Regions from separate parts of the Homo sapiens genome. Here all the other regions are linked to region 3. The links are contacts of gene promoters, found by promoter capture Hi-C in blood cells and fetal thymus (Javierre and others, 2016). All regions are on one chromosome and are shown on one strand. Each heading gives the region's core, a stretch centred on a gene start or on the middle of the fragment in contact. The rest is flanking DNA. Distances are from core to core; before and after follow the strand shown.

Region 1 (2,700 bases), core at 72-2,571, 1.7 Mb before region 3:
CCTTGAGAAAGTAAGAAAAAGGGACTTTTACATTTCACATAATAACCTGCAGGGCTATGTAAATTTTCTTTCTAAAGTAACCAAATATTACTTTTGTAAAATTTGTAAACAATATTTTTTCAAAAACCCTGAATACACAATTGGCGTTTATTCATCTTGTAATCTCACGATACTGTTCAATTAAATAGGTCCAGTAAGTTCAAAAGAGGTAAAGCAAGTTTTTTCACAAGTTGAATTCCTATCAATACCCAACAACTCCTCATATTCCTTACCATAAATATGTTAGAAAAACACTGAAAACTTCCAGTAAATACTAAAACTAAAACTAATGTGGTATTTTCAATTTCTTACTACTCTTAAAATTATTTTTACTCAATTATTCTGGACAGGCACATTCAACTGACATGCTCAAGACTGTACTATTCTTGTACAATTGTTTGTGGACAGTGACACATATATTACAATTCAACGACAGGCCAGGTATAACTGAAGTTCAAATATGCACTACATGTACTATTCATTCATTCACACATTTGACAAATATTTACCGAGTGCCCACTATGGGTCAAGGACTGTGCTAGGCACTGGAAATACAACAGAATAAGAAAGACAAGGTCTCTGACCTCCTGAAACATTTTCTACTGGGAAAAAAGTTAGTAAAAATTTTATTCTGATGTGTCATGTGTTACTCTGGCACCACAAGTTAACATATTAGTGATGACGAATGTCCTTACATTTGGGATTAAAAAAAATGGCATGTGCATGGTTGTTTTCTGGTGTTTTTTGTTTGGTTTTGGGCTTTTTGCCATGAAAAACTTAATTTTATTGTCTCTTTGAATGACACAGCTCAACCTCTAGTTAGAGCATATACTGCCTTATGTTTTTAAATAGCATTTTATATTCATTCATTAAGAAAAAAAATTATTTTTTAGAGTACTTTTAGGTTTACAGCAAAATTGAGAGTACAGTACAGACATATCCCATACCCCTCCTGTGCTGACACACACATAGCTTCCCCCACTGTCAACATCCCCCACCAGAGCGGTACATCAGTTACAAGAGATGAATCTACACGGTTTGATAAATTAAAGTTCATTATTAAGAAAACAATGGGACTTCAAAGAACTGTGTAATTGTGGAAGCATCTCTGTGAAACTATTCTCAGGAAGGCAGAAGGCTGGAGAAGAAACGGCTGGGGCCACATAAAAGCTAAAATGCACTGAATAAAGCTTACTCTGTACCAGTCAATGTACTGAGAGCACGTTAAATGTATTATTTCACATAAACTTCCCAGTAACTCCAGTTGAAGCATTATCTCCACTTTGAGATAAGACAGCAAACTTAGATAGGCTAAGTAAGTTGCCCAAAGTCACTCAGTTGAAAGATGGCAGAAACTGGAAACCTGAACTGAGCCGAAGCTTTTAACCCAAGCAGGGTCTTGAATGGCAGTAGGCCTCTGAAGCCACAGTAGAGAGATGCACCATTGTATATTTAATCTTGCAGGCAGTGTGAATGGAGGTTTAGAAGATTCTCAAGGAGAGCAATAAGTAAATAACCTCATTAAGTCTGATTATAGAGCCCAACTTTAGGAAGATAACTTGATCCACAGTGTGTGTAATGACCTGAACCAGGGAGCAACTGAAGTCAGTGGTATCAATTAAGAAGGAGTAAAGGGGTTCACGTAAACTTCAAATGCTTCAAAGCTAAGAACTTGCTGAACGGAGACTACAACACAGCCTCCTGATATCCTCCTCCCCAGGGAATTTTATTTCCATTAAACCAAGATGTCAAAGACTTGTGAATAAGAAATTGGTGAACTGTACATCACAACCAAACACATTTACCCATCATCTAGTAGAATAATGTTTTCTAAACTGTGTTAGACGGAGAACAACCACGCAGGGTGCAGAGATGCTGCTGAGCCTGAGCTGGACTGAGAAAATCTAACGGATGTGCTGGGACTGCCAGGAAACACCCCAGCCTCCTCCTGGAAAAACTGAACAGCCCAATTAGAACTGCCTTGGAAAGGAAAGGAAAGAGAAAAGGAAAGGAAAGGGAATTCTGGGGACTCTAAAACACCTTGGTTGTTTCCTTCATTAAATAAACAGTACATTTTTAGTTTCAAACACTTAACTTACTATACATGTGATGCTACAATTTTCACTCTTACCACAGTTAACTCAGCAATTGAGAATTATTTTGGGGGGTTTCCGAAGGGGCTTAGAATGTGGTATGAATGGGAGCGAAGCGTGAGTGAGAAATATTAGGTAAGAAATAGAAAAACTCCTTTCCTATACATATATTTGGAAGGGAGCACTGAACTCTATGTTTCCAACCTTACTGCACTTAACTCTTATGGCCTTACCTTAAGGATGGATCTAAAATCCATCCCTTAGGTGGCTTCAGGTCAATCATCGCTATTCTGCTAGTATTTTATGACTTCTCCATATATGGTAGAAAGAATAATGCCCCCTCCCCCTACAAAGACATCCACATCCTAATCTCTAGAATTTGTGAATATGTTACCTTCCGTGGCAAAGGAGAATTAACTTTGCAGGTGGAATTAAGATTGCTAATCAGCTGATCTTAAAATAGATTATCTAGGGAGGCCAATGTAATCACAGGGATCTCAAAAGCAGAAGACGGGCGGGGGGGGCGGGGCCGGGCGGGGTCAGCCAGGCCAGGTGGCTCACATCTGTC
Region 2 (2,754 bases), core at 83-2,582, 1.7 Mb before region 3:
TGGAAGAGGAATAGGTTTCTTGGTTTCAATAATAGAAGCTACTTCAATTTCCCAGTTGATGGAGCTGGTTTGGGTGGAGCCTGGCCTTGCTTTCTTTTCTCTCCTTGAATTACAAAAAAACTTTGTATTTGTGCAACACATTCTTCTTTTTAGGTGAGCTAAAAGTTACATAGCTTTCTGTTCCTAATAATCAAAACTCTTCATTAGGACATTCATTTTGGCAGAAATCGCTGAAAAAGAAGGTAATGGCCAAATATGTGATAAATTCCTTGTCCCGGGGACCCACACATTGAATTTGGTAGTATCAACAAAATGTGGAAACAGGTGGATAAGTAAGTGCAAATTTCAGAATTTCACAGCTAATTCTAGTCACTGTCCCTAAGAACCCATGTACAATATCACTTCCTCCAGCAGTGGATCGGTTGGGCTCTATACCACTTTACCTAGCATGTACCTACTAAATATGTTTCAGTGGTAATATATAAGGAAAGGCAAGGAAGTGACTAGACTGTTTATTTTGTGAAAAAAATCACTGAAATGAATTTGGTGTTGAGCACTTTTCTGTATGCATTATATCACACTTGAAGATAAATATACCCATTAAACAGAATAAAATCAGTTAACAGAGTCAAAGTCAAGGTCTCTCTGCTTTTATGGTAGCTATTTTATAGTAGGAAGAAAAGGAGCACACATCAGCTTCAATTCTATCTGGTTGCTGGATCCTCCCCATAATCCATAGTTAGATGAAATTCAATTTTGTTGGTAACTAGTTGTAATCTAACTATAGGGTGGCTGTTCTTTCATTTCTGGCTTCTCTATGGCAAGTTACACAAAGCTTCAACTTGCTCATCATTTTCAGTTTCATTCAAGCTTAAATGTAATATGGAAACCTTCAAAAGTAAAAAGTCATGTTGCTACGGGACCAGAATCATCTCTAATAGATAGGTTGTAAGAATCGGTTACCATCTATAAGGCACATTTTGTTAAAAATGTTGCATCTTATTTGTAACCCCCAAATACATTAATCTGTAATCAAACTAGGAATGCAAACATGGGCTCCTCAAAACACTGAAAAAAAAAATCAGGATAATCTGATTCTCACTAAGTACTTTTCAATCTCACACTGCATTTACTCTTACTTTGAAAAAGTCATTTTTTTAAAACAGCTGAATTGATTTTTAAAAAATATTCCTTGTTTCTAACAGTTATCTGATGCTTTCATGCTCAATAATAATAAGAGAGGAGGGGGTAGAGGGAGGATAAGGAAGGAAGTAGCAGCAGCGGGAGGAGGAGAAGGGAAAGTTAATGGCTAACATGTTGGACTGCTTACTATATACCACGTATGCTTTTCACAGCTATTGATGTACTATTATTCCACTTTGCCCTCACACAATCTTTTGATGTTGGTGATCACAGCAGCTATTGTTCAAAGTGCTGGACAGTGCCTAGAGGGGCACTGTCTTAAACCACCACTGCTCTGGGGAGGCCCAGGAGGACAGTGCAGGCTCCAGGACTAGGTGTGCTCGGTTCCAGTCCTGACCATCAGCCACTTATACCTGCTGTGCAACCTTGGGGAAGTCACTTAATCTCTCTATGGCTCAGTTTCCTCATCTGTAATATCAAAAACAATAGCATCTGCTTCTGAGGTACTATTGTCTCGCTGGGCTTATAAATGTTAATTATTATTATAACACATGCTTTAATTGAAACATGAATTAGCATCTACTGTATATTATACTTTCACATATGCATAGAAAATATGCAAACAGGAGGGGAAATATAAGCATATCACGTTGAAGCTTTCAAATTTCACATTGAAGCTTTCAAATTTCAGCATTATTTTGGTTTTTAGCTCCACCCCTATAGTCTACAGCAATGCCTGGCACATAGTTAGCACTCAATAAATACTTTTGAGTGAAAGAATGAATGAATAAATGAATAAACAATTTTGATAACTAAAATTGGGAATATGGGCATGAAACAGAGAAAAGTTCATTAAAGTGTTTCAAATTCTAATCAAAAGATATTCTTTTTCTGACACGAGGAAAGAGATCATTTCTTTTCCCATTAAGTGGTGGAAGTTTTCAGCAAAAGGGAATTGTCTAGCAGGACTTTAATGAGCCCAAACCAAATAAATATCTACAGGGGCACATGAAGAAACACACATTTAAAAAGGAGAAATTTTCTTTGGAAATAAAGGCAAAATTAATTAGCACTTCCTCTTAAATATACCAAAAATATGAGACAAATGTGTCTACTGAATATTATAGTATGCTTTTAATAACACTAAAATTTTATGTTTAACCCTGGCACTGACTGCAATGAGAAGGTTCTTTTAAAGTTTCCCTCAAAATGCTAAAGGCATGAGTCAATACTTTCACATAGGCATAGAACATATGCAAACAGAGGGGAAATATAAGCATATCACCTGAGGGAAAAGCAGGCTGCCCCAGAGGGCCTCCCAGGACAGCACTCATGACCACGTCCTCCTTGGCCTTGCTACCACCACACCTCATTCTCAGGACATCAAGAGCAGCTCTCTCTCTCTCTTCTCTATTTCCTTATACATCTCCCTCCCCTCAATCAAGGCATAAGGCAAATATCTAAATCCCAAGTGCTGATTTATCAACTGACTATGTAAAATAAAAACTGTTGCTGAGTCTAACACATTCAGGTTGGCAAAACTGCTGCATTTTCTCCTTCTATATCCATAATTACATTAAGGAGTAAAATCACCGGCATAAGTTTGCCAGG
Region 3 (2,717 bases), core at 106-2,605:
CATACATGCTTTACATGGCCAGCCAGGAAATGATAGGAGGTGGCTGGCTGCAGTTACTGTGAAATGATAAGTTCACATATTTGTGTGTTAGAAGATGCTTACTGTAAGCCTCCTATGGAAGTGTTCAATTTCTTTGGCAAAATTTTATGCTATCTATGCCAATGTTGGATAAATAGATTAACTTGCTGCTTTGTGTTTGTATGCTTGCAGACAAAATTGTGTTATTGATCTTGGGTATCAAGGTGAATTTGTCAGAGTAATGGGTGTTTTTTTTTTTTTTTTTTCTCTTAAACAGTGGCTGGCTAACAATCAAAAATAGGTTTTGGTAATGTTGGGTAACGTTGCTCAAATACGGCTATATTATGCAGAGCACATGGCAATCGTTGAAGAGTAAAACACAGATAATTCCACTTCTTTGTAGTGTGCTTGACACAGGTTTGCAGCAGTATTGCATCATCTATAAGCATTACATATGGCTGTCCTTTCATCTTACTAAATTATTTGCCAGCAGATCTAATAGATGGGCTGAGATAGTGAGCATGAACAAAAGAATGTTTCTCTTCTCCAGGATATTCTCTACTTTTTGTTACTTAAGTATCTATGTAATAGCATTTGACATACAGCCAAACACCAGGGCAGCCCCATTTAAGGTTTTTGATACACTGAGGATCATTCAGAAAACTTCGGATTCCTAGTTATAGAGTTGAATCCAACCACCAACACACTCCAGAAGTCCTGACATTAGGAAAAGAGATGGCCACCATCTTTCACCCACTTCAAGTCCTGTAAGGATGATCTAGAATCTACACTGTGCCAACTAGCATCCAGGCACACATCAACCTGCCCGGACTACCAAATGCAGAAACAAGCCCAGTAGCAGCAGCTGCTCCGAGCTTGCCCACACACCTGCATCCTAGTGGCAGACAAATATCCTGGAAGCCTTTGTGTCCACACACTCATACCTACATGACATACACTTAGAGGAAAAGATCTGAATATTCTTATTCACAAGAACAGAGGCCTGAATACAGGAACACTATGCTCACGTACACACAAAAGACACGCATGGAATAAAGCATTTTGCATATCCAGTCTTGCGCACTTACACTTTCAGGTCCTGCACAAGACCCCTGGACATCGGTTTGCTTTTCTTTGAGCCATTCACAAACTAGTTCCTCGTTCCTGGGACCGTCCCTAGTGTGGATAAAAGCCAACTTCCCACAGTCTTTGTCGGTCTTTTCAACTTTTCTCTGCTCTCGCTCAACTCCCAGAGGGCCGGGTGGCGCCGGCCAGCCGACGTCCCAGCGGTGGCCTCCCCGCCCAGCCGCTGTGCAGCGGGGCGGGGCCGAACTGGCAGCCAGGAAATGCCCTGGAGTGTGTGTCACCTGTCCAGGACGACTTGTTGATTCCCAGGAGGGCCGCCTTTCCGGTCTGGGTCCCCGAGAGGACTGCCTTGCTCACCTGTCCCCTCGGCGCGGCCCCGGGGAGCTCCCGAGAGGCCCCCGGGATCGCTGGCCCTCCGAACTCCACAGCAATGAGCAAGTTGGGCAAGTTCTTTAAAGGGGGCGGCTCTTCTAAGAGCCGAGCCGCTCCCAGTCCCCAGGAGGCCCTGGTCCGACTTCGGGAGACTGAGGAGATGCTGGGCAAGAAACAAGAGTACCTGGAAAATCGAATCCAGAGAGAAATCGCCCTGGCCAAGAAGCACGGCACGCAGAATAAGCGAGGTAGGCTGGGGTCTGGCCCACAGGCGGGAGCCCATCTGCCTCTAGCCTTTCCCTTGGGGACAATCGGCCCACACCACTGAGGTCCCCAGGTGGCCAGGTTTGCTCCTGCAGTCTTTTCTAGGAACTGGTACTGACTCTTAGGGCACTGACTAGGGTGAGTTGAGCTAGACACTGGCACTGATGGCAAAATGTAAGGGGCCGCCAAAAATCTCAGTAATCAAGATGAACAATACTTTAATGCAATACCTAAAGGACTCAGAACCAATGCCAAAAAAGAAATGATGAAGAAAATATCAAAATTTTAAATAAAGACAAGATTGGTATTGATTTTTTTCATTTGCCTCTAGCTCTTATGTTGTTATGTGCAGCACATCTTTATTTAAAATTATTTTTTATAATGTGATGATTTGTTCATCGTGGATTTTTTAATATTAATTTTGAATTTTAAAAATATTGCATTAAAATATTATTTGTCTTGATTACTGAGTGTTTTCGCACCCCTGTAAATTTTGCTCCTGGTCCAGCTTTTTCTAGGCCAGCCTTGCTGACTCCAACACTAACCATGAAGTTTTCTGCTGTATGTTTGTATATTAAATTACACATTTTAACTTGCACGTAAATCTTCAGAAAAGGATATTCTAGTACGTTGTGGTCTACCTTGCTCCTCAGCTGTGGAAAGCTTTAGCTGGATGTTCGGCAGTTGAAGTCTTAAAAAAAAAAAAGGTAGAGGAATTAATTATTAAATTTCCTATCACTGACTTTTGGCACACACAAGAGACTTTGAGTCAGTAATGATTCTTGGTGTTCCTGTTGCACCTTGAACACCTGTTCTTTGCCAGAGTTAACTGATTTCTTCAGTATACTGCTCCTTCTATTGGAATACCTCTAAACAGCACCTGTGGCACAGATAAAAACTCAGTGAGAAGTTGAAGTGATTTGCTCTTGTAACACCGGGTTCATGGCAGACCCAGAAAAGGAAGTGGCAATATCGGA

Evidence for each region. The method cuts DNA at HindIII sites, captures the fragments that hold promoters and counts their contacts. A CHiCAGO score of 5 or more calls a contact.
Region 1: a contact is called between a fragment that was not itself captured here and the fragment with the promoter of CHMP4C in region 3, in 5 of 17 cell types (total CD4 T cells, activated CD4 T cells, non-activated CD4 T cells and 2 more). The highest score is 7.2, in total CD4 T cells.
Region 2: a fragment that was not itself captured here is called in contact with the fragment with the promoter of CHMP4C in region 3 in 1 of 17 cell types (activated CD4 T cells); the score reaches 7.2 in activated CD4 T cells.

The regions. Positions count from the first base shown.
Region 1 is chr8:80,026,002-80,028,701 of GRCh38, forward strand. All of the region lies in intron 5 of TPD52-MRPS28 (TPD52-MRPS28 readthrough), which reads right to left. The region is part of intron 1 of MRPS28 (mitochondrial ribosomal protein S28); the gene reads right to left. Among named protein-coding and RNA genes, the nearest start is that of MRPS28, 2.9 kb to the right of the region's middle. RefSeq lists a silencer at 393-687. The HindIII fragment of the contact is 189 bases long and covers 1,228-1,416 here.
Region 2 is chr8:80,045,670-80,048,423 of GRCh38, forward strand. All of the region lies in intron 4 of TPD52-MRPS28 (TPD52-MRPS28 readthrough), which reads right to left. The region is part of intron 5 of TPD52 (tumor protein D52); the gene reads right to left. Among named protein-coding and RNA genes, the nearest start is that of MRPS28, 17 kb to the left of the region's middle. The HindIII fragment of the contact is 929 bases long and covers 869-1,797 here.
Region 3 is chr8:81,731,093-81,733,809 of GRCh38, forward strand. CHMP4C (charged multivesicular body protein 4C) reads left to right here and starts at 1,356. Exons shown (of 5, transcript NM_152284.4): 1 at 1,356-1,724. The coding sequence starts at 1,535. The HindIII fragment of the contact is 11,241 bases long and covers 1-2,401 here.